7 separate regions of the Homo sapiens genome follow, and all the other regions are linked to region 7. The links are contacts of gene promoters, found by promoter capture Hi-C in blood cells and fetal thymus (Javierre and others, 2016). All regions are on one chromosome and are shown on one strand. Each heading gives the region's core, a stretch centred on a gene start or on the middle of the fragment in contact. The rest is flanking DNA. Distances are from core to core; before and after follow the strand shown. Region 1 overlaps RGS6 (regulator of G protein signaling 6). Region 2 overlaps RGS6 (regulator of G protein signaling 6). Region 3 overlaps RGS6 (regulator of G protein signaling 6). Region 4 overlaps RGS6 (regulator of G protein signaling 6). Region 5 overlaps RGS6 (regulator of G protein signaling 6). Region 6 overlaps RGS6 (regulator of G protein signaling 6). Region 7 holds the start of DPF3 (double PHD fingers 3).

The links. The method cuts DNA at HindIII sites, captures the fragments that hold promoters and counts their contacts. A CHiCAGO score of 5 or more calls a contact.
Region 1: a contact is called between a fragment that was not itself captured here and the fragment with the promoter of DPF3 in region 7, in 2 of 17 cell types (activated CD4 T cells and total CD4 T cells). The highest score is 7.6, in activated CD4 T cells.
Region 2: a fragment that was not itself captured here is called in contact with the fragment with the promoter of DPF3 in region 7 in 16 of 17 cell types (activated CD4 T cells, naive CD4 T cells, naive CD8 T cells and 13 more); the score reaches 14.1 in activated CD4 T cells.
Region 3: a contact is called between a fragment that was not itself captured here and the fragment with the promoter of DPF3 in region 7, in 15 of 17 cell types (monocytes, naive CD4 T cells, total B cells and 12 more). The highest score is 16.3, in monocytes.
Region 4: a contact is called between a fragment that was not itself captured here and the fragment with the promoter of DPF3 in region 7, in 3 of 17 cell types (activated CD4 T cells, total CD8 T cells and total CD4 T cells). The highest score is 6.9, in activated CD4 T cells.
Region 5: a contact is called between a fragment that was not itself captured here and the fragment with the promoter of DPF3 in region 7, in 16 of 17 cell types (total CD8 T cells, naive CD8 T cells, naive CD4 T cells and 13 more). The highest score is 37.1, in total CD8 T cells.
Region 6: a fragment that was not itself captured here is called in contact with the fragment with the promoter of DPF3 in region 7 in 10 of 17 cell types (total CD4 T cells, activated CD4 T cells, naive CD4 T cells and 7 more); the score reaches 11.2 in total CD4 T cells.

What each region holds. Positions count from the first base shown.
Region 1 is chr14:72,420,721-72,424,039 of GRCh38, reverse strand. All of the region lies in intron 3 of RGS6 (regulator of G protein signaling 6), which reads right to left. Among named protein-coding and RNA genes, the nearest start is that of MIR7843, 94 kb to the left of the region's middle. The HindIII fragment of the contact is 3,861 bases long and covers 119-3,319 here.
Region 2 is chr14:72,493,874-72,497,125 of GRCh38, reverse strand. RGS6 (regulator of G protein signaling 6) reads right to left here. Exons shown (of 18, transcript NM_001204424.2): 13 at 1,864-1,974. Among named protein-coding and RNA genes, the nearest start is that of MIR7843, 21 kb to the left of the region's middle. The HindIII fragment of the contact is 5,151 bases long and covers 1-3,252 here.
Region 3 is chr14:72,547,856-72,550,972 of GRCh38, reverse strand. All of the region lies in intron 17 of RGS6 (regulator of G protein signaling 6), which reads right to left. Among named protein-coding and RNA genes, the nearest start is that of MIR7843, 33 kb to the right of the region's middle. The HindIII fragment of the contact is 1,343 bases long and covers 1,162-2,504 here.
Region 4 is chr14:72,437,443-72,440,598 of GRCh38, reverse strand. The region is part of intron 3 of RGS6 (regulator of G protein signaling 6); the gene reads right to left. Among named protein-coding and RNA genes, the nearest start is that of MIR7843, 78 kb to the left of the region's middle. The HindIII fragment of the contact is 259 bases long and covers 1,390-1,648 here.
Region 5 is chr14:72,528,352-72,531,670 of GRCh38, reverse strand. All of the region lies in intron 15 of RGS6 (regulator of G protein signaling 6), which reads right to left. Among named protein-coding and RNA genes, the nearest start is that of MIR7843, 13 kb to the right of the region's middle. The HindIII fragment of the contact is 496 bases long and covers 1,289-1,784 here.
Region 6 is chr14:72,453,980-72,457,505 of GRCh38, reverse strand. RGS6 (regulator of G protein signaling 6) reads right to left here. Exons shown (of 18, transcript NM_001204424.2): 4 at 2,928-2,978. Among named protein-coding and RNA genes, the nearest start is that of MIR7843, 61 kb to the left of the region's middle. RefSeq lists a silencer at 772-974. The HindIII fragment of the contact is 845 bases long and covers 1,468-2,312 here.
Region 7 is chr14:72,892,341-72,895,642 of GRCh38, reverse strand. It overlaps DPF3 (double PHD fingers 3), which reads left to right and starts at 1,542. Exons shown (of 11, transcript NM_001280542.3): 1 at 1,542-1,586. The coding sequence starts at 1,555. RefSeq lists an enhancer at 1,288-1,582. The HindIII fragment of the contact is 4,463 bases long and covers 1-3,302 here.

The sequences.
Region 1 (3,319 bases), core at 800-3,299, 470 kb after region 7:
ATCCTCTGAGGAAATGCCACCACGAGACTGGAAGCTACATGTGGAGAGGGATGGGTTTGCTTTTGCTTATCACAACCCCAGCCAGGCACTGAATGAATGACTGGATGAGAATGAAGCTTTCAACACTTCTATAATCCCTAGTGTCACAGCAGGGATCCTGACTTAACGATTTGTATGTAGTAAATGATTTGGGAATGAATATTTTGTTTTGACTTTTATTTTAGGCTCGGGGGTACATGTGCAGGTTTGTTATATGTATAAATTGCATGTCGCTGAGGTTTGATAGACAAATGATCCCGTCACTCAAGTACTGAGCAAAGGACCTGCTGGTTGTTTTTCACCCCTCGTCCCCCTCCCACCCTACCCCCTCTAGTAGTCTTCAGTGTCAGTTACTATTATCTTCGTGTCCATGAGGACCCAATGTTTAGCTCCCACTTATAAGTGAGAACACATAGTATTGAGTTTTGTGCCTCTGCTTTAATTTGCTTAGGATAATGGCCTCCAGCTCCATTCCTGTTGCTGTGAAGAATACGACTTTATCCTTTTCATGGCTGTGTAGTATTCCATGGTGTATGTGTACCACATTTTTTTTTACACAATCCATTGTTGAATGAATACATTGTTAACAATTATTTCCATCTCATCTTGTATCTTATAATTAGAGACCAGACATCAGCTTTTGAGGGGAAAAAAGCAGCCCAGGGCCATCAGCGTGAGCCTGAGGGCCAGGTAAACATGACATGGGGTGGGGGGACATATGGGTGGAAAACCACAGTCTCCATAAATGGGACAAATTTCTGTCTATTTCACGACTTTGTCTGTGGCTATGTCTGGCACCCATGTTCTCTAAAAAGATTCTTTTCCATCTCATATTCCTCACTATATTCAACACGCTGCTAGGGGATGGCCCTCTTCACAAATCCTTTTCTAAACTACCTCCCACGTGACTCAACTCTCTGACTCACCTGCCGTGTGGCCACCTGTCAGGCCCTTCTACTCTTGATAGTCTTTTTCTTCCTTTGTGGGTTAAAACAATGGAAATTTATTCTCTCCCAGTTCTGAAGGCCAGAAGTTAAAAATCAAAGTGTCGGCAGAGTTGGTTCTTTCTACAGGCTCTGCAAGCGAGTCCGCTCCATGCCCTCTCCTGGCTCTGCTGCTGAGCATCCTCGGTGCTCCTTGACTTGCAGATGGGCCCTGGATCTCCGCCTCCATCCTCACTTGGCCTTCCTCTCCCAGTTCTCTTTCTGGGCTTAATAAGCGAGTCCACTTGTGTTTGACCTCCTCTGCCCTCAGAATGGCAAATTCCCCCACATCTGTCACCACTGTGCTTGGCCCTTTGATGCTCCTCATAATGACACCCACTCTCATGGGGACACATACAAGCTGTGGGCACCCACTCCCCAATCTTGGACAAGGACGAGGGGTGAGGCTGCTCTCCTGAGTACATAGGGCTCTCCCAGTCTCTTGGGCTGGCCTGCTGAACTGGACCTGAGCTTTCCTGGAAAACAAAAAAAGCGAGACTTCTTTCTCTCGCCCACTTGACTCTGCAGCTCCAGTTTGGACTTATTTCTCTAGATTTGTTTTCCCCAAGATTGCAGATACTAACAAGAAATTACTAAGCTATCTCACTCTGTTATTATAACTTATAATAAATATACTACTTTATATTATTATATATGTTGATTGATATTATAGCATAACTCAGATGTAAAGCTCATATTGCCGTTCTAAGTATATAAGAATTTTATTTTTACATCCCATTTGTATTAGTCCATTTTCATGCTGCTGATAAAGACATACCTAAGACTGGGCAATTTACAAAAGAAAGAGGTTTAATGGACTTACAGTTCCACGTGGCTGGGGAGGCCTCACAATCATGGCAGAAGGCAAGGAGGTGCAAGTCATGTCTTACATAGATGGCAGCAGGCAAAGGGAGAGCTTGTGCAGGGGAACCTCCCCCCATTATGATACCATCATATCTCATGAGGTTTGTTCTGTATCACAAGAACAGCATGGGAAAGACCTGCCCGCATGATTCAATTACCACCCACCAGGTCCCTCCCACAACATGTGGATTTGAGTGTGAACACAGACAAGCCATATCGCCATTTAATCTGTGGAATGATTCTGTGAGGTCAGCCGGGAGCATGATTCCTGCCTTTCAGAAGAGGAAACGGGAGCCCAGTCTTTCTTGCAGCCCACAGCAAGTTACATAGCACAGTGGCCTCCAAGGGAGGAGGAATGGGGAGCTGTACACAGGGTGCAGGCGATAAGGGGTGCAACTGCCCAGGAACAATATACATATCATAAAATACCTCAGTGATGAATACTTTCTCCCCTTGGTGCTCCACTGATGCTGGGACTAGAGCCGAGCCGTGGGGTTTCTAAGCCGGTGCTGTCTCCCCTCTACCACGGCCCCTCAAGGTCAAAGCAGAGGTGATTTTAGAAGCTCCTGGAGGGGCACATCCCACATATTCAATTCACAGTCAGGAGAAACTAAATCCTCTTTTCTCAAAGGGGTGTGTTAGGTCAGCCTGGGGTGGGGAGGCAGTCCCCAAAGGCATCACGTTAGAGCTGGGAATTCTGAACTTTGGTGATACCACTTCTCTGTTCTGGGTGTAAGACATTTCAATACAGTCTTTGGCTTAGTTTAAAATGTAAATAATTACATTTCTCATAGTTTTGATGACCAGGAAGATCCTACCCCACCCTCACTCTATAATCCCTGACTCCCAGCCCGTGGCGCCACACCTCATCTCCGTATGGCTCATCACCCCATCCCGCCAGATCACTGCTCTGACTCCAGTCCCATCCCTTCCCCTCACCCCACATTTCTGGTGAAAATTATTCGAACCAATCCATGCTGCTTGCTGTCATTTTCCTGACTTCACAGGGGAAAAGAGATCCTCTCCAAGTTTTAAGACAGATTATCGGTACAAAAAAAAAAAAAATCTAGCTGCGTCCATCTTTTGGCAGAAACAGTCTGTTGGCTGAAAGCAGAAGTGATTTGGGCATGAACCGGTGTCCTTGCTCGAGGCCGGCATTCCTTTCTGCCTTATTTTCAATCACGCCTGGGGTGCAGTTCACATTATCACCACGAAGGGGCGCCGTTGCTCTGGAAAGCCACAAGGCTTCTGCAGGCAACTGCCTTCAGTTAAGAAAAACTGCCAGGTTACAGGAATGTGATATTGATTTTTGATTTCTTTTAAATTAATAATCAATGGCGTTCTGAATACTGCTTAATTTCTTATTTGTAGAGGTACAGAGCTGAAGCCTGTTAGATGTCGTTTACGGCATTTTCCAGAGGCAAATAATGAGG
Region 2 (3,252 bases), core at 334-2,833, 400 kb after region 7:
TTTCTACGAATTCTACTCCTGGAAAATATATACTGATGAAATAATTGAACTTGTGTAGAAAGATGTTCCCGGAATCATTGTTTATGGTGGCAAAAAAGGAGGACATAAGCTAAATATTTATGATCCAGGTACTGGTAAAATAAATCTTACTTCACCGGTGCCAGGGGATAGTATGTAGCTATTAAAAAGAGTAAGGTGGATCTATATGTGTTTACATGGAAAGACTGCCACGACCTATTGTTAATTTAAAAATTATTGGACTATATATATATATGTACATATTTGGGTATATATATTGAACCCAATTATACAAAAGGATAGAATGTTATATGTGCATAAAAATCCAAAGTAATAGACACTAAATCAGATGTTCCCAAATTTGCTGAGCTCATGGTACCCTTAGCGTCTCAGTAAGTTTTTCACAGTGCCCCTGGGCCAAAAGAAATACTTAACAGTGTCATTTATTATGGCTAGGACCAATCAACTTAATATGTATTTGTATCCTAACAACTTAGTAGCTGTTTGAAAGACACATAAATTGAAAATTTTGTTTTCATTCTTAAATAACTACAATATGCACCTATTGGGCACTACGCATTTTCTTAAATTTTGGAATTAGGTTGGAACTTACCGTCCCTATTTCTTATTCCATGTTAATTTTTGTGCAGTTCTTGCTTTTTATCATAGTGACTGCTCCGAAAAGCCAGATTTGCAAAGATGCGTATCATCATAAGGGATGTAACGTGCTCTAATGTTGAAACTGAACCATCTTAAGCTAGTAGTTTATGCAGTATCTGCCATGTGTCAACCATCGCTGTGTTTCCATAAAAAATTTGGACTATCCAGTGGTAACTCTGTGAGTTCCCCACAGTGCTCAGGGTGCTCTGATCCACTCTGGGAACCACAGCATTAGACTATAAACAAAGGTTCTTTCTGGAAGGTGAAATCGGGTTGGAGGAAGAGAGCATTTTCTTCTTTATGCACATCTGGATAATTTGAACTTTTTAGAATGAGCATCTGCGACTTTTATTATTTTTATAAGATTTTTTCCATTTCAGGAAAAGCAGCCAGAAAAGGGGCAAAAGTGAAAGACAATGTGAGTGACAGAGACATGAAAAGGGAAATAAAAATTCATCCAGCCAAGGTGCAGGGGGTGTGAAGGCACACCACACTAGCTTTGTCTGTGTGTTTCCTTCTGTAATTCTGAAAGTGGTCCAAGTCCCTCTGGGCTTTGGTTCCTCCCCTCTTAAGTAAACACAGTGGCTTCCCTCACAGGGAAGGAGAAACTGGCTGGAATCGTTGCTGGCAGTTACTCCAGAAGAACAGAGTGATGAAATCATGGTTCTGGAGCCCTCTGCCTGAGTTCTAGTCCTAACTCTGCTGTACTAGCAGTATGACCTTGGGCAAGTTCATTAACTCCTCTGTGCCTCAGTTTCCATAACTGCTGAGTGGTGAGAATAGTAATGTTTACCTGTCGAGGGGATTCAGTGAGAGACACTTACTGCAGGATGTGGCCAATGCAGAATACGTGCCAGCTATTATCATTATTGTTGCTGTCTAACAGGAAAAAAAATTGGAACAACAGATTCTTTTCTTCCAGCAATCAGAACTAGGGAATGGTGAGGGACTGTCTCAGTTATCATGGTATCCAAAGGGTCAGAGGGGAGCCACAAAGGATCCATGCACAAATCAAAGCTATAAGGAGGTAGAAACTGTAAGTAGAACTCAGCTGGGAGGCTACTTGAGGGGTTTCTGTTCTAGCGATAAAAAATGTCAAATTAAGATAGAATATAAGGTAATCTCATGATCTCATGGATTTTTGTCTACATTCATCCCACTCCCAAACCTTAAAACATTTTTTACCTCATCTCTATGTCCCACAAAGCAACGTCATCGCTGATCCAAGGGTTGGATGGCTCAGCTGGTGTTATCAAAGGGTCATATTCCACATATTGTTCCGTGTAGGCAATTAAACTGCAGGAGGGAGGCAGAGCAAAGAATGCCACTGATTTCCTTAGAAAACCCCTTTATTCTGTTTTACACAAACATTATAGCAGTCTTCACATAATTCTAAATTAAAGGAAAAAATTTATTTCCGCTCCCACTTCTGACACATCAAACTGTTTTCATTTGTCCTTATTTCCTTCTTATAACGAACATACCATTTTTGCACTGTTGCAGCCATGATATATACATGCATTTTATATATCTTTTCCTCACTTGATTCTTTACCTGAACCTTGGTGCATCTCTCCCTGGTTATGCTAGCCTTACTGATACTAATACACTGGTCAAAACTGTTTGTGTTCCACCCTCCCACAAAGACTGATTCTCGAGGCATCTGGAACACACAAAAGACACTACAGCTCCACCAGACTGCCAGCTCAGCATTCCCAACGGAAGGACTTTCTTATGATAAAGACTTTTAAATATCAGCAGACCACAAGGAGTAAACATTTGCATTTTTTTCCAAAAAAGCAACTTTTCTAGTTATAATTATGATCTAATAGATATGTTGATCTTATAGATTGATATAATTTATTTTAGACTAATTTTTATTCTTATCAAAATGTATGTGAATAGTTAGAATAATAAAATAGTACCAAATGATTATATATACTAAAAAAGCAAAAGCAATTATTTTTTCCTCCCATCCCTTCTCAGAGAGGCATCTACTTTCCACCTTATGTTTTTTCTAAAAGCTACCTATATATTTCTAAATTATACGCTTTTATATCTATTCCTGATTTTTTTATTTTAGACAAGAATTTATCTTTCTATTCACCAGTCCTCAACTCCCTCCTTTTCTTACGTGATCCTCCAAATAGATTTGTGTTACAATTTTTGTTAAATCAATGGTCAGTGTAACATTATTAAACTAGATAAAAATTGTTTGCTGTTCAGCTAAATATCATACTACTTTTTCCAAGCAAGTGTTTTAACAAACCTGTAAAACATCTAGCAATCATTTTTTTATACCTTAAACACATCAAATAATTGAGCAGTTCTGTCCTCTTGTTTCCCAGAGATCCTCTTTCCTGAAGTCTTTAGTCTTCTTGCTCGAAACTGGATCATTTGCTCTATAGACTTGATGGAAAATGATCTTTTTGGGACTTCCTTCACTTCTGTGTTGAAAAGCCCATGTTTCCTGGATTCCATGTCTATCTCTTGCTTTTACTCCCTGATTGTGTTGAAGCACATCCTTTAGTAGTTTCGTAATAAAGGATGCATGAGAATCCTTGCAAGTCTAAAA
Region 3 (3,117 bases), core at 584-3,083, 340 kb after region 7:
AACTACTCAGGAGGCTGAGGCAGGAGAATCGCTTAAACCTGGGAGGTGGAGGTTGCAGTGAGCTGAGATTGCGCCACTGCACTCCAGCCTAGGCAACAAAGCGAGGCTCTGTCTCAAAAAAAACACCCCCCCAAAAACCAAACCAAAACAACAACAAAAAGCAAGCAAGCAAGCTATGATTAAAGATTAGCCAAGAATGAGATGTGAAGCTGAATCACTACCAAGGAAACCTCCATCAGGTGTAAAACCTCCATCAGGTGTAAAACCACCGGATTGTGATGACTCACAAAGGCTAGTGATTGATTGACTCCTTTAATTATTTAGAATTATGGATGCCTCAGAACCTTCTAGTATTAACCAGGACAGAGCACGTATCAGAATTCCCCCACCACTTTTGCTGCAGAAGATTACAAGGTTGGGTTAAGTGTTGTCTTGGATGCTCCATCTCCATTTCCCAGTGTAATGTGCTATGATGTTAAGGCCAGGCTTTCGGTCCTTGCTTGACAGTCTGTCTTTTCCTGTTAGGCACGGGGGCTCAGATGTACTTGGTGCTTAGTGCAAACAAAAAAAGCCAGGGGCATGGTGTGGAATGGTTCTCCAGCCCTGTCACTAAGTACAGGTGCCCTCTGCCTCCCTGCCTTCCCTCTCCCCCACCTCTTATACCTAGGCACCAACTGCACCTGATAGAGTTTTAATGGAGTATCTGAGAGAACATAGTAGCAATCAACCCTGACTGGGCTTTCTTTAGCTGTAAAAAGTGTCTTATTAAAACTTTGCTGACTTTACCGGGATCGCCATGTTTAATGAGAGGCCTCAAAGAATTTGAAAGCAAAAGATGGAGAGGAAAAAAGTCACAAGCTGTAATCACCATAATTACACAATCCCACGATGAGTTGAAAGCAGCCCTGGTGAAGCCCAAGAGAGGAGGGAGTGTCATCGGCAATCGGGGTGGTTCTTAGGACAGCTGGAAAGAATGTGACATGGGAACCCTTCCCTTTCCCTGAGCTGGGCTGAGGACAAGTCCCCCTGGCAGGGCCCTAGAGGAGGGAAGCCAGGGTGGGGGCATAGTTTCTCCTCAGTCCGAGGTCTCTGGGGGGTTTTTTGTGGGATGGGGATGGAGTTTTGCTCTGTCGCCCAGGCTGGAGTGAGGTGGTGCAAGCTTGGCTCACTGCAACCTCCGCCTCCCTTGTTCTAGTGATCCTCCTGCCTCAGCCTCCCGAGTAGCTGGGATTATAGGCATGTGCCACCACACCTGGCTCATTTTTGTATTTTTAGTAGAGACGGGGTTTCACCACGTTGACCAGGCTGGTCTTGAACGCCTGACCTCAGGTGATCTGCCTGTCTCGGCCTCCCAAAGTGCTCGGATTACAGATGTGAGCCACCACGCCCAGCCGGCTGAGGTGTTTTTGATGTTAGCTCATTTACCTGGAATCTGGAACTGGCATTGGGTAAAAGGCAAATGACTTTATGATCCTTTTTGCTTTCAACAAAACACCCTTTCCGGATGGGAACTATGACAGGATGAGTTTTCTTCAACCTTGGGCCAGGACGCCCCACGCACATGGCCACCCTGGCTGTGCTGGGGCTCACTGCACGATGGTTGCCAATGCCCTGTGCCAGTGGGCGCCTGTGTCCTCCACTTGCTGACCTCCTTTCAGACATTCGGGAGAGAGAGCCCTGTTGCCCAGAGCTCAGCTGCTGCGGCAGCAAATGCCAAAAAAAAAAACAAAAAACAGAAAAGAAGGCAAGGATGACATGTGAAGGGCAGTAATTCCACTTCCTGACGGTTTCCCTTGCTTTGAGTGTGTCATCTTGTGGCTTTTTCTCCCTCAAGGCGGAGTCTAGTCCTGAGTCTTTCAGATCCCTCTCCTCCAATCTCAGCAAACTCCTTCCTTATAATTCATTCTCCTTTTCCAGGACTTATTTATAAACCACAGAATGAAATGCAGTCGGATCCATTTAACAAGTATTTGGGGCAGCATAGAATTCCAGTTGCAAAAGATCATGGGATCTGGTGTAGAAACCTACTCTGCACTATCCTTGGCCATTCAGCTTCTAAACGGCTAGACATGGAGCTCGTTGCCCTTTGAGGGGACATAGTCTATTGTTGGAATATTCTGTTATTGTTAGAATATTTTTAGTATCTACCTATCTATCTTCTAGCCATTTGTTCTAGCCTTGCTCTCTGGAGCAACCCGGAAGTGTCCACTCTTGAAGACAAATGCAAAGAGCTCACGGTGGCCATCAAGTCTGCTGGGGGGCTAGACATTTTTACTCCAGCCTCTTCCGACGTGGCTTCCAGGGTCACTTTCTCTCTCTAGCTCTTCTCTCTCAATTGTCTCTAGATGTTAAAGTTCCTGATAATGTGGGGGCTTAGAACCAAGACTTAATATTGCTTAGAGCAACAAAAAGCAATGGAACACTTTTCCTTTCCCACTTTTGTTATATAGCCTAAAGCTGCCCTTTGGAAAGCAGCTGCATTCTGCATTTGCTTACACTAAGCTTATCGTCAATTACAACCCAAGAAATTTTTTTTTTTTAAACTTGATTTTTAGGAAAGGCTACAAATGCCATCCTGTAGTTGGGAAACTGAATTTAAAACACACACACACACACACACACACGCGCGCACACACACACACACAAATATGATCTGGTAAAATGCTATCTGTTTTTGACCCATCATCCCAGCTGCGGGAAATGCTTTCCAAATATAATTCCATTATCTACCAAATGAGCCACACTTTGGAGGTCTGGATCTTTGAATGTGGTTGGAATGTTTGTCTCTTCATCCAAGTCATCAAAAAGGTTATTGGATGGGCCATGGCTGAACCCTTGTGGCCCGCTCAGAGACTGCCTTTCCAGCGGACATAGACGGATTAATACACCCTCTCCCCTGCCATGAAGACGCTGAATATACTCACTTCACCTACAAAGGGGCAAACAGGGACGTGGAGGTGAGCAGGGGGAGGGAGGCAGGAATGGGCATTGCTTTCACCCTTCTTGTGCTGCTAACAGGCCACATATGAGTATTTTCTGGAGTGGGAAATGTATTTTTTAAGGTTACCCTTCTTAACAGTAAGCCAGACCGCCACGGGGGGTGTGGAGAGAATCTGC
Region 4 (3,156 bases), core at 270-2,769, 460 kb after region 7:
TATACTAAAAATACAAAAATTAGCCGGGCATGGTGGCATGTACCTGTAATCCCAGCTACATGGGAGGCTGAGGCAGGAGAATCGCTTGAACCCGGGAGGCAGACTGCAGTGAGCCGAGATCATGCCACTGCACTCCAACCTGGGCAACAGAGCGAGACTCCATCTCAAAAAAAAAAAAAAAAAAGAAGTGTAGGTCAAATTTCAACATCACTCATATGCTCAGCTTCTCTAAGTCCATTTGCTAGAAATAATCTTAACTGCCTGCTTGCAGTAGTCGGACAGAAGCAAAGAGGGTCTGAGCGCAGAGCCCAGGGGAGGGAGAAATAAATCCCCTGAGCAAACTGCATTATTTTCAAGATGTCAAATACATTTTCTCTCTCAAGCTCCTAGGTGATTTTGGTCCTCTATGGTTATGGAGTGGTCTTGTAGCTGAGGGGCAGAAGGCTGGGATATCAGGTAGGATAAGAAAGGGAAGAAAGCAAAGCGCAAGTGCTGTCACCACAAATAGACACATTTGTAGAAAGCAGCATCACGTGGATGCTAACAGGGCCCCGAAATGCCACAGCTGGGGAGGGTGTAAGGAAGGTGCTTTAGACAAAGGTTTGGGTGGGTTAGGGATTGTGGAGCAGCCTGCGGCTAGAGCAACAACTAGAGGAAGTTTCCAACCTCAGGTCGAATGGGGTAGCAAGGAGGAACAGTTACAGGAACCCACAGGATGTGGTCTTTCTAGGAGAAGGTGGACAGACAGAAGCCACAGCCTTCAGCAGAACACAGCTACTCTCTGATGAAGGTCTGCCAGGGAATAAGTTACCTGGTCTCCCTCTCCTCCCCTCTGATCTCCTGTTGGTGTCACCCATCAGTTGAAGCCTTGTACCCAGAGGGCAAGGGAGCTTACTGAGGCAGCTGTAGTGACAGCCCGTGAGGCACAGAGGCAGGTAAGAAGGGTGGAGAGTGGCTCTGGAGGGACAAGTGGAGAATGTCCAGCTCAGATGTGGAGGAGAGAAAGTATTTATTGCATAGGCTTAGCGATAGCCTTGTAGAGCTAAGCTTTGTTATTTGGCACACTTTGCTTCCAAAGAGCAGGGTTTTCTTCTGATGTCCTGGTTACTGCAATCTACACTGATACTTTGCATCTACAAAGAGATCTAGAGCTCACAAAGGCCTCACACGCATCACCTCTCGTTTCACCCTTACAATACACCTGAGCCTTTGCACCCATGTGCCCATTTTATAACTGAAGAAACCGAGGTTTGGGTCACCTCATGGTTTCTTACTTTGTTTATGCATTCACTAAAGCATTTATCGAGCTCCTACTGTGCCCCATATCGTTCTCTGTGCTGAAGTGGGGAATGAGACAGAAACAGATGTGGTCCCTGACCTCTCTAAGCTTACTCTGTAATGGAGGAGTCAATGAACAAGGAAACTGCATGAAACCAAGGAAAAACAGCGCAATAATGAAGCTAGAATGGGAGTTGGGAGAGAGGATCACTGGGGACTACTGAGATTGGGGAGGGGAGTGCAATAAACTTCATTCATTGAGAATAAAGAACTCAGGAACAAGAAGGAGATGGTCGTGTGACTCTTTGGAGGAAGAGCCTCCCCATCAGAGGAACAGCCAAGGCCAGATCTCCAAGGCAGGAAGCAAGCTTGATCTGTCCAGAGGGCAAGAGGCAGGCTCGTACGCCTGGAGGTTGGCCACACAGAACACAGTGGAGAGGAGACCAGGAAGGCAGGGGCTGTGTCAGGTTTTAAAAGAAATAGAAAGTCCTGGAAGGCTTCAAGTGGTAAGGGGTCCAGTTTATGTTTTTAAAAGATGTTAGCTGCTGAGTGCAGAATGGATTGTAAAGGGAGAGGAGTAGAAGCAAGGAGACCAGTTTGGAACTGTGTCCACTGGGTTAGAGAAATGGAAGGCTGGTTGGGCACAGGTGATATGGTGAAATCAAGAGAAGCAAATGGGTTTGGAGGCAAGGCTCCTGGTCCTCTCTGATGGATGGGGCTTGCCCATGAGAAAAAGAGGAGTCTCGAGTGACTCCAGGTTTCTAGCTTAACTAGTTGGGTGCACGGTGGAGCTTACATCAACTGAGATGAGAAAACAGGATGGGGAGGACACCTGGGCTTGCGTGCTAGCCATGTTTCGCCTGAGGTCTGTAGGAGCCATCTGAGTAGGGACATGGAGTGGCTGTTGAATCTGGATTTGTGGGGAGAGAGCTGGCTGGAGATAGTATTTGAGAGTCACTGGTGTGTAGGAATGCACTTCAGGCAGCGAGGCTGGATGAGGTCACCCAAGGAGAAAATGCAGAGAGAGAAGAGGGGCTCGGAACCAAGGCCTTGGCTTGTGAGCAGGTGGCAACAGGGACCCCTGGCATGTCTGTTCTCAATTTGGAATGTCTCCTGTCACCTGAGCTTCACTCTTCTGTGACTTAACCTGTGACAATGGCAGTCCATTCCCCTCTCTCGGGAAAAAGCAAGAAAAATGAGCTCCAACAGCTGAACCCTCCACCAGGCCCTCCTGGAACCTGTCTGTTATTTCCACCCCCCTTTTTCCTGCTCCTGTCTTGATTCACAAAAAAATCTACACCGACCACCACTGATGGCATCTGATGGCTCTGCCCTATGACCAAGTCAGATAGACAGCTAAAAATGTCTGTGTTCTCTTCTGATTAATAACAAGTTTAAACTTGTTTTCTGACTTGTCTATCACTAAATCACAGCAGACTCCCTGAAGTATCTTGTGCAACTTAGGAGCAGGGGACGCTGCTTCCAAGTGGATACAGTCACACAGCCAGACAAGTGACTTCAAGCCCCAGATCCCAGTGTGCTGGAAGACTGCGGGGTGGAATGTCATCAGAGCCAGGCATCTTTCTAATGTGCCATCTTCCTCTCACATTGATCAACTTCAGACCAAGAGAAACGGTCTTCTGTTCAGAGAACACGCTAAGAATGTTCCCAAATGGGAAAACCCTGTGAATGGGAAAAGGATGGTGTAAATATAAAACTCATTGTGAATTTATTCCTTTTAGCCCTGTTTTCTCATCACTACCCCTGCCCCCAGGTGCTGGTTACTTGCAAAATGGATTAGATTTCAAGCAGCAAATAATTTTAAACATTGCTAAAACTAATAAAGGGAATACAATAGGACCCAGATAATGAATGAGG
Region 5 (3,319 bases), core at 287-2,786, 360 kb after region 7:
AAAATAAACAAAAAGAAAGTGAAAGTAGAAAGCAGAAAATGTCTTGGTCACATGTGAGGCCCTCTTGGTTTCATCTTTGGTTGGAACCCAAAGAATCTTGTTTTGGGACTTATTCTTCCTGAGATACCCTCATATTTACAAAAGCAGGGGAGTTACCCCACTAATGGGAATAAACCCACTGGAAGGACTCAAATGAAATTAAATACTGACTTGGTTCTTTTTTTTTTTTTTTTTTTTTTGAGATAAAGTCTTGCTGTCACTCAGGCTGCAGTGCAGTGGTGTGACCTCAGTTCACTGCAACTTCTGCCTCCCGGGTTCCAAGTGATTCTCGTGCCTCAGCCTCATGAGTAGCTGGGACTACAGGCATGCACCACCACACCCAGCTGATTTTTTTATTTTTAGTGGATACGGGGTTTCCCCATGTTGGCCAGGCTGGTCTCGAACTCCTGGCCTCAAGTGATCCACCTGTTTCAGCCTCCCAAAGTGCTGGGATTACAGGCGTGAGCCACCGCGCCCAGCCTCCAATAGTGGCCTGGTTCTGAGACTACTTGGATAGTCCAGACGTATTCTGATTTAACAAACTTAGTGTGAACACACTTCACTAAGTGTTTTTCTGAAAATTTCAGACAAAAATCCAGCTCACTCTTGTTTAAGTGCCTTGAGGAACAGTATGTGTTTATTTTTACAGATGCATACTGTCTAGCACAGGCTCAGATATTAGTCGAATATACATGTTCACTGAAATGCCGGTTGGAATTTAATGTTCAGCAAGTTTACTGGCTCCATACTTGCTTGGGTTTATGACTGCATCAAGTTCCTGCTCTCTGCACAGAAGGAGAATGAGGATTACACTCAGCTCAGAGGAGCATGAAAATCTTGGCTCAGCCATCCCTAATGGTCTCAGAGCCCAGGCTGAGGGGTATCATTGGTCTTTGGTTTCATTTGTTGTCTCTTTAAATTGTTCTAACATTTTCTTTTTGAGATGGAGTCTTCGCTCTGTTGCCCAGGCTGGAGTGCAGTGGTGTGATCTTGGCTCACTGCAACCTCCACCTCACGGGTTCAAGCAATCCTCCTGCCTCAGCCTCCCAAGTAGCTGGGATTACAAGCATGCACCACCACGCCTGGCTAATTTTTATATATTTTTTAGTAGAGACGGTGTTTCACCATGTTGGCCAGGCTGGTCTCAAACCCCTGGCCTCAAGTGATTCACCCGCCTCGGCCTCCCAAAGTGCTGGGATTACAGCCATGAGCCACCACACCCAGCCAAATTATTTTAACATTTAAAGCTTAGGTACAAATGTTAGTCCACAGTAAAAATGACACACTGTCTCCTTGTGTCAGGCATCACTTCTTTCTGGCTGACAGAGCCAGGTGGCTCCTGAGTCATCTGGAAAAGCCTATCATAGTGCCTGGAACCTCTCCAGACCCTTCTCCAAAGCAACAGTTCCCTGCTTCTTGTTCTGACTTCTCAATATCTCACAATACCCCTCTGCTGCCCCATAAGAAGTGAGGAAACCTCCCCTAGACAGCTCTTCTGGCTCAGCACCAAATTCCCCTCTGATCTAGCTAATTCTTATAGACTCATTGTAGGAGGGAAAAGCCTGGTTCATGAAGAGAAAGAACTTGTCAATCAAAATAGAGCAGGATAAAGCAGATGTCTAAACACTGAATCAAAATAATATTCAGCAAATAGTTATTGAGCATTTACTAGGTGCCAGGGCACTGTGTCAGACGCTGAGATAACAGCCTGAATAAGACAAATCGGCCTCTAATGTCATAAAGCTTAGATCCAACTAGGCAAGATAGACTTTGCACAGAGACGCATTTAGCCAATTCAGCTAAGGGCTGCAGAGATGAAGTACAGGCACAGGGTATGAATGTGTATACCTGGGGATGACCTATCCTGCTACAAGTGGGGAATGGTGGTCTCTCAACCAGAAAGATCCTCATCAAAGTGGAAAGATCTGTGTAGAGAGACAGAAATATGTCTCCTAATTCTGTGGGATTGCAGGGAGGGGGGGGTCTGGTCTTGCAGCTTCACAGTCTGATCAATCAGAGGAGAAAGACAATCAAGGGGCAAGGAGGAAAGGGCAGCAGAGAGAGGTTGTCCACTCTCAGGAGGCCCATGTGGGTCAGAGGAGCAGTTTGGACACCACTCTCATCTTCTCCATGTCATATGGCCAACTCCAAAGCCAGATACCAAGGTGAGGATGGTGTGGGGAGAAAGATAAGAGAATAAGAACACAACCTACTGGAGCATGAGTCCCATGAGGTGGTCTCACCACACCAATCCCACTGCTAGCCCTTGACCACCATTATAACAGCCTGAACCACCCTTCAAGGGAACAACCGACCACAGCAGTAATAGCAGATCCAAGGTGCGGGTCTGAGAAAACCAGAATCTGAGAACCTCTGCGGATCTCTCACACCCCATGCAGACCCCATGGCTTCAGCCTCCCTCTGGCCTGGGCCTCTCTTTTCCACAGCCTAGGGATCTGTGACTCTTTCCTGCCCTGCAACTCCTCCCCCAAGCAACGAAATGCAGCCTTTGATGATCCAGTTATTGAACTGTGTTCTTTCCTCCTTGCCAGCTTTGTCTAGGAAACACAAAGACAGTAAACGGGGGTGGGTGAACAGAAAACTGAGATTTTTCTGGGAATGAGAATTAAGATTGGACTCAGGGTCTTTGGCCATTTCCCAAATGCAATGAGTTTATCACTGCCAGGGACAGCAAGTGTACAAAGCTCTTGGCAGTGACCTCTGCTGATTTATGGGGGTGCTGGTTTGTTTCCCCTATTCTGCAGACAACCAGTCTTAAGGGAAATGTATATTCAGAATCTGCAAAGTGCAAGGGAGTCACTGGCAAAACCAGCCAAGCCAAGCCCCTGCTGAGAGTAAATTCCTAAGGGGATGGAGAAAAAGCGTGCTGGCCCGCGTGCTCTCTCTCTTTCTTGCTTTGTCTTATTTTGTCTTGCCTTATCTTCTTCCCTCCTTTCCCACTTCCTTCCTCTCTCCCTCCGTCTTTCCCTTTCTTGCCCTCTCTCTCTTTCTCTTTCTACAACAGAGATGACTAAGCTGACTATGAACAAGCAGAACTACCAGAGGTCACTCCCACCTTGGGATGCAGTGGAGAGGCACCTCCTCCAAAGAAGATGAGGGTGGTTCTCTATATGATGATAAACCAATGCTCTAGGGCTCTAAATCACACCAGTGTCTTAGCCAGAGTCCTCAGCAGTGGGAGGCATCATATCCCTGGAGTGGTTGATGGCTGTAGTGGAGGGATGTTACCCCGATGAGCCACTCCACCTTCATTTTCTCT
Region 6 (3,526 bases), core at 641-3,140, 440 kb after region 7:
GCAACACAGCGAGACCCTGTCTCAATTAAAAAAAAAAAAGTTAAGAATTTAGATTTATCCTGAGCAGAGCTAAGAAAAAATAACAAACCTCAATGCTTCTACCACACACAATCTTTCACAAATCCAAAAGTACTGTTACAGGTTAAAACTAATTTTTGGACATGGAAATTGTTAATGTGCTCAGGGAGCCTCTAGCAATTATTAATTTCACGAGCTCTGACTTTTTAAAGTAGTTTGTTTTGGCTTTACTTGCAAACTTTTCAAGAAGTTGAATACAATGCAATGTTTTGCGTATCAAGAACCACCTATTCTCCTTTGAAAGAAACATACATGTAACTGGTGGAATTGGAATGAATAGAGTTTTATTTTACTTGCTTAGTGATGACCAATTTGCTATTTTTTTTTTTTTTTTTTTTTTTTTAGAGACAGGTCTGACTCTTGTCACCCAGGCTGGAGTGCAGTGGCATGATCACAGCTCATTGCAGACTTGAACTCCTGGGCTCAAGTGATACTTCTGCCCCAGCCTCCCAAGTAGCTGGAACCACAGGCACATGCCACCACGTCTGTCTAATTTTTTTTTTATTTTTTTTGGTAGAGGTAGGGTTTTGCCATCTTGCTCAGGCTGGTCTTGAACTCCTGGGCTCAAGCAGTCCTCCCAGCTGAGCCTCCCAAAGAGCTGCGATTACAGGCATGAGCTACCATGTCTGGCCGGTTTGCTTTTTAAAGTCCATATGCTTCAAGAACCATGAGTCCAGCTAGAACAGAAGTTTCATCATCAGCAGTTGCTCCTTCCCCAGAGAAGAAAGAACAAAATCCTGTAGGAAGGTGACTTTCATGCCACCAGTCTTGGAGCTAAGACTCTAACTTCATTCTCTGAGCAAAAATGTTTTTGCTTAGACGTTGGCCAATGGGGCCAGGTGCAGTGTCTCACACCTGTAATCCAAGCACTGTGGGAGGCCAAAGCAGAAGAATTGTTTGAGGTCAGGAGTTCAAGACCAGCCTGGATAACACAGTGAGATCCCCATCTCTACAAAAAATAAAACAAAAAATTAGCTGGATGTGGTGCTAGGAGCCTATAGTCCCAGCTACTCGGGAGACTGAGGTGGAAGATGGCTTGGGCCAGGGAGGTCAAGGCTGCAGTGAGCTATGCTCGTGCCACTGCACTCTAGCCTGGGTGACAGAGTGAGACCTTGCCTCAAAAACCAAAAAATAACCACAGGAAATCGACTGATGGGAAAAAGAAGGGAGAGAGGGGCAGATGCTGGATCTGACTGTTTCCCAAGGCCTCGGTTTGCCTCATCTCCCCCCTTAGACTATTCCCAGCTGACAAATGGTTCTTAGCTTCTCCTCAGCCACTTCTCAGAAGCCCAAACAGGCCCCTATACCATGATGTCTTCCCAAGGGCATCAGAGTATAACAGATTTTCATAGAAATAACTCTCATCATTCAGGACCCTTCACAGAAGCTTCTCACGCCAGGGCTGGAGGATTCCTGAAGCTCATTCTCACATACTGCTCGCCAATTTAGGGTTCTCATAATAGTAATAATAAAATATATGTCAGAAATACAACGATTATTTTAGGAGGCAAAGAAACCAGTGCTCTTGGAAGAGAAAAGGTGGCCATGAGGAAACACGTTCCTTAGTTTAGCATTATAATCACAAGAAATACTGACTTTAGATAAATGTAACTAAACAGGTAGATGCTGATTCAGTCCAGGCTTTCCAAGCGGACACTCAGAAGTACAGGCTGCATCAGGGACAACACATAGTGAGTTGCTTTGGGTTCTATCCTTTACAAAGGGTTAGCATTTATAGTTTTTTCCCTGTGAATCAAGAACTTGACTAGAATTAAGAATTTTCACTAGTTGTGAGAGTAGCCACTAATCAAGGGGGTGAAAAGACTCGGGCCACTTCTATGAATGATCTGCTTTTCTGGCACTCAGAGTTCTAACAACTGTATATAATTGAACTGCATAGAAACTGTATTGTTTTGCAGTCAACAGATTAGAAATGTTGGGTTAAAATACAGGAGTGCCAAGCTGACACACCGATTCCAGCAGGGACTCACAGCTGAAGGTCACGGATGCAGAATGGGCACTTCAAAAAAATCTTCAAAAAGCATTGTGGTTCAGGGCCATTTAATTTGGGGCAGGTAAGTCTAATCACGCCAATGTCCATTAAGAACATCAGAGTGTATTAGTGGATCTTTATAAATGTGACCTTCAGGCATCAAGAATACTCAGTTAATCAAGGCAAAGGAGTATGTAATAAATTCGGAAAAGTATTAACTGACAGCACATGGGAATAAGCTTTACTTATCTTGAATTTTTATTTTTCTGGAACACCCCCCCCATTTCCTAATTACACTGTGAAAATAAATTTTACTGCCTATTTTCTGGTGGGAGAACAGACTGGGAAATTGTTTTATTGGCCAGGGTTCTGTTGTTGTTTTCCTGGTAAGGTCTTCCTAATTGAAATGCGCAATTAAAGTTGAAAAAAAATCATTCCTTCACTTCTTGCAGAAGCAGAAAACAGAGGGAGTCTTAGCAAATAATTAAACATCTTAATTGTGGATCAGGCAATCTAATTTTAAGAGCTGGCTCTAGAAGGCTGTTCAGTGACAGTGCTACAACTTATCTTTAATTGCTGCAGCTAATGAGAATTCAACTCATTTCACACATTATTGTATTGGGCTCTTTGGCATTCTAAAAAGTTGCTCATTTCCTCAAAGCATGATTTAAATTTAAAGACAAATATTCAGTGGAGAAAATAAATTAATTTTATTTGTAAATAGAGTGATTCCACGTCTTGGAATTCACATTTACAAGACCAGTTCTCAGGAGGGCAGGGGAATCTAGTTTGGAACTTGGTTATGGGATGTTTACTGATACCAGGGGAGATAAGGGTGGGGTCAAAGGTCAAGTACCTGGGTCCTCAATGGAAAGGTTCTTCATAAGCCACTGCACAATGTCAGTACCTGCAACGATAAAGCAATTTCAGCTGAAGACCTCCTGGGTGTTTAACACTGTGGCAGAAGAAACATGTTTACCTAAGAGAATCCTAATTCCAAACAGTCCACACTGTAGAGCAGGATAATATGGGCACTTTTTTTTGTCCTAACCAACCCTTTCCATTCTTCAGTACACTTCCATAGTTACAATTCCATTCTTGTCCAAAAAACACTCACTTCTGATGATGCAGGATGAGCTTATATTCATGTTTCTAGGAAGTGTCTATAGAGGACTTCCCTGAGACGTGCTAGGTGAAGCTTTATCATGCCTGGCCCCCAGACCATTTCTTGAAGAAGGAGGCCTCATCAGCTCCCTACCATCAATTACAAGGGCTGACCAACACAGGTGACCTCATAGGTTCTTGCAAAACTCTCATCTCTTCCGGCACAGGCCTATCCTGAATGAATGTGTCCCTGCATTTGTGGCAGAAACGTCTATGTATTCACCAAGACCTCTTTCCTCTCCTCACTGTGCCATAGCTAGATTACATTTCCAGCCTCCCCTGCACTTAGAT
Region 7 (3,302 bases), core at 293-2,792:
TTTTCAAACTGTAATCTCTGCCAAGATGCTATGCAAAGGATTTACAAAGGAATCTATAGAACTCAATTCTGCTTCTTAAATACGCAGAGAGGAGTTAAAGATTTCAAATCTTTTAAAAACATAGTGATTCAGCCACGTTCTGTTTATCTGTAAATCTAATAGTGTATGTAGTTGAACTCTTAAAATTCTGGAATGTTTATTTTATTTTATTCATTGTCTTGAGAGGAGCAAAAGGAAGCGAGAGGGCATAGCTTTGAAGAACTGGCAATTTGGCAACTTCTCTCCCCTTGCCACCCCTCCCCCACTATCTTAGCTATTTGATCTGATTAAACAGCTTTGGAATGGTAGCCAGACTTCTGTATGCTAACGAGGCCCCTACCCTATTCGCGATTTAATGCGATTTCATCCCCCCAGAGCTTCCCGGTGCCCAGTGGAAGCCTGACTTCGCAGAAGTCTCCCAATTTTGTCAGGGGCTCGCCAGTGAAGAGTTCACACTGACTTGAAGCAGACACAGACTCATTGGACGCCTCGGGTCACATCGGATTATTCATTAGCAAATTCTTTCCACCTTCTATCTAAGTAGTGAAAGGTGACGCCAGAATCGCGTGTGCCACTCCTCTAAAGGGACCCTGATAACACCCAGTCCAGGCTCTACAACTTCTGCCTAGTCACTTGCTTCCTAGCAGTAGAAAGTTTCCAAAGGTTGCCTTAAGTCCTCCCTACCCCTAAGCCTAAAGATCAGAGCTCCAGGTCCCACCACCTAGCAGGAATCTGAGCATTTTGGAAGTTTCTGGTGTAGAGGGAAGAACCGAAGGGGTGGTAGCGGGGAACCGCGCAGAGTAACCCCCCTGCACTACGTAAGGAAAGCCCTGGCTGCAGGAGGGAGCGAGCCTGACATTGAGACGTTCCAGGGGGAGGGTGAGTTGCTGTCCTGGAGTCGCCAGGAACAGCAGCGACAGTTCCAAGAAGCGAGAGAGGAAGGTGGCCGAGATAAAGAGAACACTTCGGGAATAAGAATATTAAAAAGCGGCAGGACCCAGAGCATTAGCAAACGGCAGAGCACATGTAGTAATTTGTTAACACGAAACGGCAGCCTTCCAACTTTTGCACTGAAACACGGGGATTTACCCTTTGGGGGATTAAAAATGTTGATACGCAAAGCCAAAGGCTAATGAATAGGATTCAGTGGCTTGCTGGCAATATTTAAATATTTCTGTCCGGGAGCGCAAACTCTTCTGCAGTTATTTAGAAAAGTAGGGAGTTAAACCAAACTATAATACTCTCCCGTGCGTCTCCACTTTCCCCAGCCCGAAAAGGAGCTACCAGCGCTGTACTGCCCCTTTAAGACCTGCTGGCTCTCGGGCTCTACAAAAGGGAGTGACCTCTGGGCTTTGACAGCTCTCCTAATAACTACCACGGCGCAGGCCCCGCCCACCTAGCTACCAGCAGCGCCGATTGGCCGGCGGGCCGGTATCCCGCGCTGTGATTGGCCCGTCGCTTCCCCTGAGCGAACCTTTAGAACTCTGAGACAATATTCTGTTACATTGTAGCAAAATGGCGACTGTCATTCACAACCCCCTGAAAGCGTAAGTAAGACTAAAAAATGTACATATTCCGCGTGGTTTCAATATGAAAAAAAAGGCGCCTTCTGCGTGGCGAGCGCTGCCAGAGCATTGCGCTTGCAGGCGCCTCCAGCCGCGGCGGGGCTTCTCTCTTCTTTCAGCTCTTACTTCTTCATCTTCTTTTTTTCCCCCAACGCGCAGAAATGTCAGGAGATGCAATTAACAAGAAGAAAATTGTTACATTTGTGTTCTGCTAAATTGCAGAGAGAGCCAGATATAGGGGTTGCAGGCGGAGAAGCCCGGCGCTCGAGCGCTCTACAGCAGGAGGGTCGCGGGAGCTCGGGGACGGCGCGGTCCCCGGAGTCCCCCGCCTCGCGGGCAGGGAGCGCGGCTTCGGGGGCTGCTGGGCGGGGGGCGAGCGTCGGGCAGTGGCCGCCTCGGTGTACTTGGCCGAGCCCCGCGCCCCCGAGCCCGCGGCCCCCGCCCCGCCGCTGGGTCCGCTGGGTCCAGCGGACGGACCGCGGAGGCTCCGGAGTTTGCAGGGCGCTCTTCGCCTTCCGATCGCTCGCGGGGAGTTTGTGCAAACCTTCCGGAGTTGGAGCACCGCGGGGGAAGCAGCGGGTCCCGGGCGTGCTGGGGCCCAGGTGGTCGCCCCGGGCTTTCCCCGGCAGCCCCCGGATCTCGGAGGCGCTCCGGGCGATCGAGCGTGTGTCTGCTCGTGTATTTGCGAGCGAGCTGGCTTTAGTGGATTAACGACTCGGGTTAACTTGGGGTGGATTTGGAGGCAGGGAAGCCGCAGGTCTTATGAATGGTGTTCTCGCCACCTCTGGGTGAGGCGCTGAGGCAGGCGGAGAGGCGGTTTTGGGGCTCCTGGCCCGAGGGGGCAGCGTCTGCTCCCGGCCGGGCGAGGGGCAGGTGCCTCTGGCCGCCTCGGGGAGACTTTGAGCGCTTGCCCAGATCCTGGACAGAGTGGGGCGGGCCGGGCGAGGACTCGCGGGGGCCAGCCCCGGGTCCAACAGCCAATTTCTGCCTGCCTGCCTTCCTCCTCCTTTTCATCCTTCCTTCCTTCCTTCCTTCCTTCCTTCCTTCCTTCCTTCCTTCCTTCCTTCCTTCCTTCCTTCCTTCCTTCCTTCCTTCCAGTCAGTGGAACTGTTAAGCCGCCAAGTCCGCTCGCGATCGCGGAGCCAGGGGTGGCCTCGGAAAACTAGTGTCGCTCTGAAAGGGGTGCTATTGGGTGATGTCGGCAGAGGGTGGCTCCCTCCGTATCCGAGGTGGGCTGGGGGGTCCTCACCCCTTCGACCGGGACTTCCCCGCCCGGACGAAGCCGCAGGCGAAGTGGCAGAGGGAGGTGCAGGTCGGGTGGGGGGCGGTTCATGCCGAATTCTCCCTGGTGCGTGGCCGCTGTCGACCCTGGTTCTTTTAATTCAGCGCATTCTCGTCTTCACCCCTGGCCACTCCTGGAGTTGAAAACCAGGTTCGCTCCCGGGGACGGTAGGGGGTTCCTAACGCAAAGGAATGCACAGGGAGAATCGGACGTGTTTGCGCCAGCTCGTCGCCCATCAGAAATAGGGAAAGGGGTAGGAAGGCCCCAGGTTTCAAATATATTTATATGAAAGCTGCCGTTAAGAGGACGTTGGAAGCTGAGGCTGATCAGATAGGAGCTCCTGGCTTCAGTTCTGGCTCGGAAGCTCGGATACACTGCGCTTGAACGCCACAGCGTTTCACCCAAGAAAGAAAATG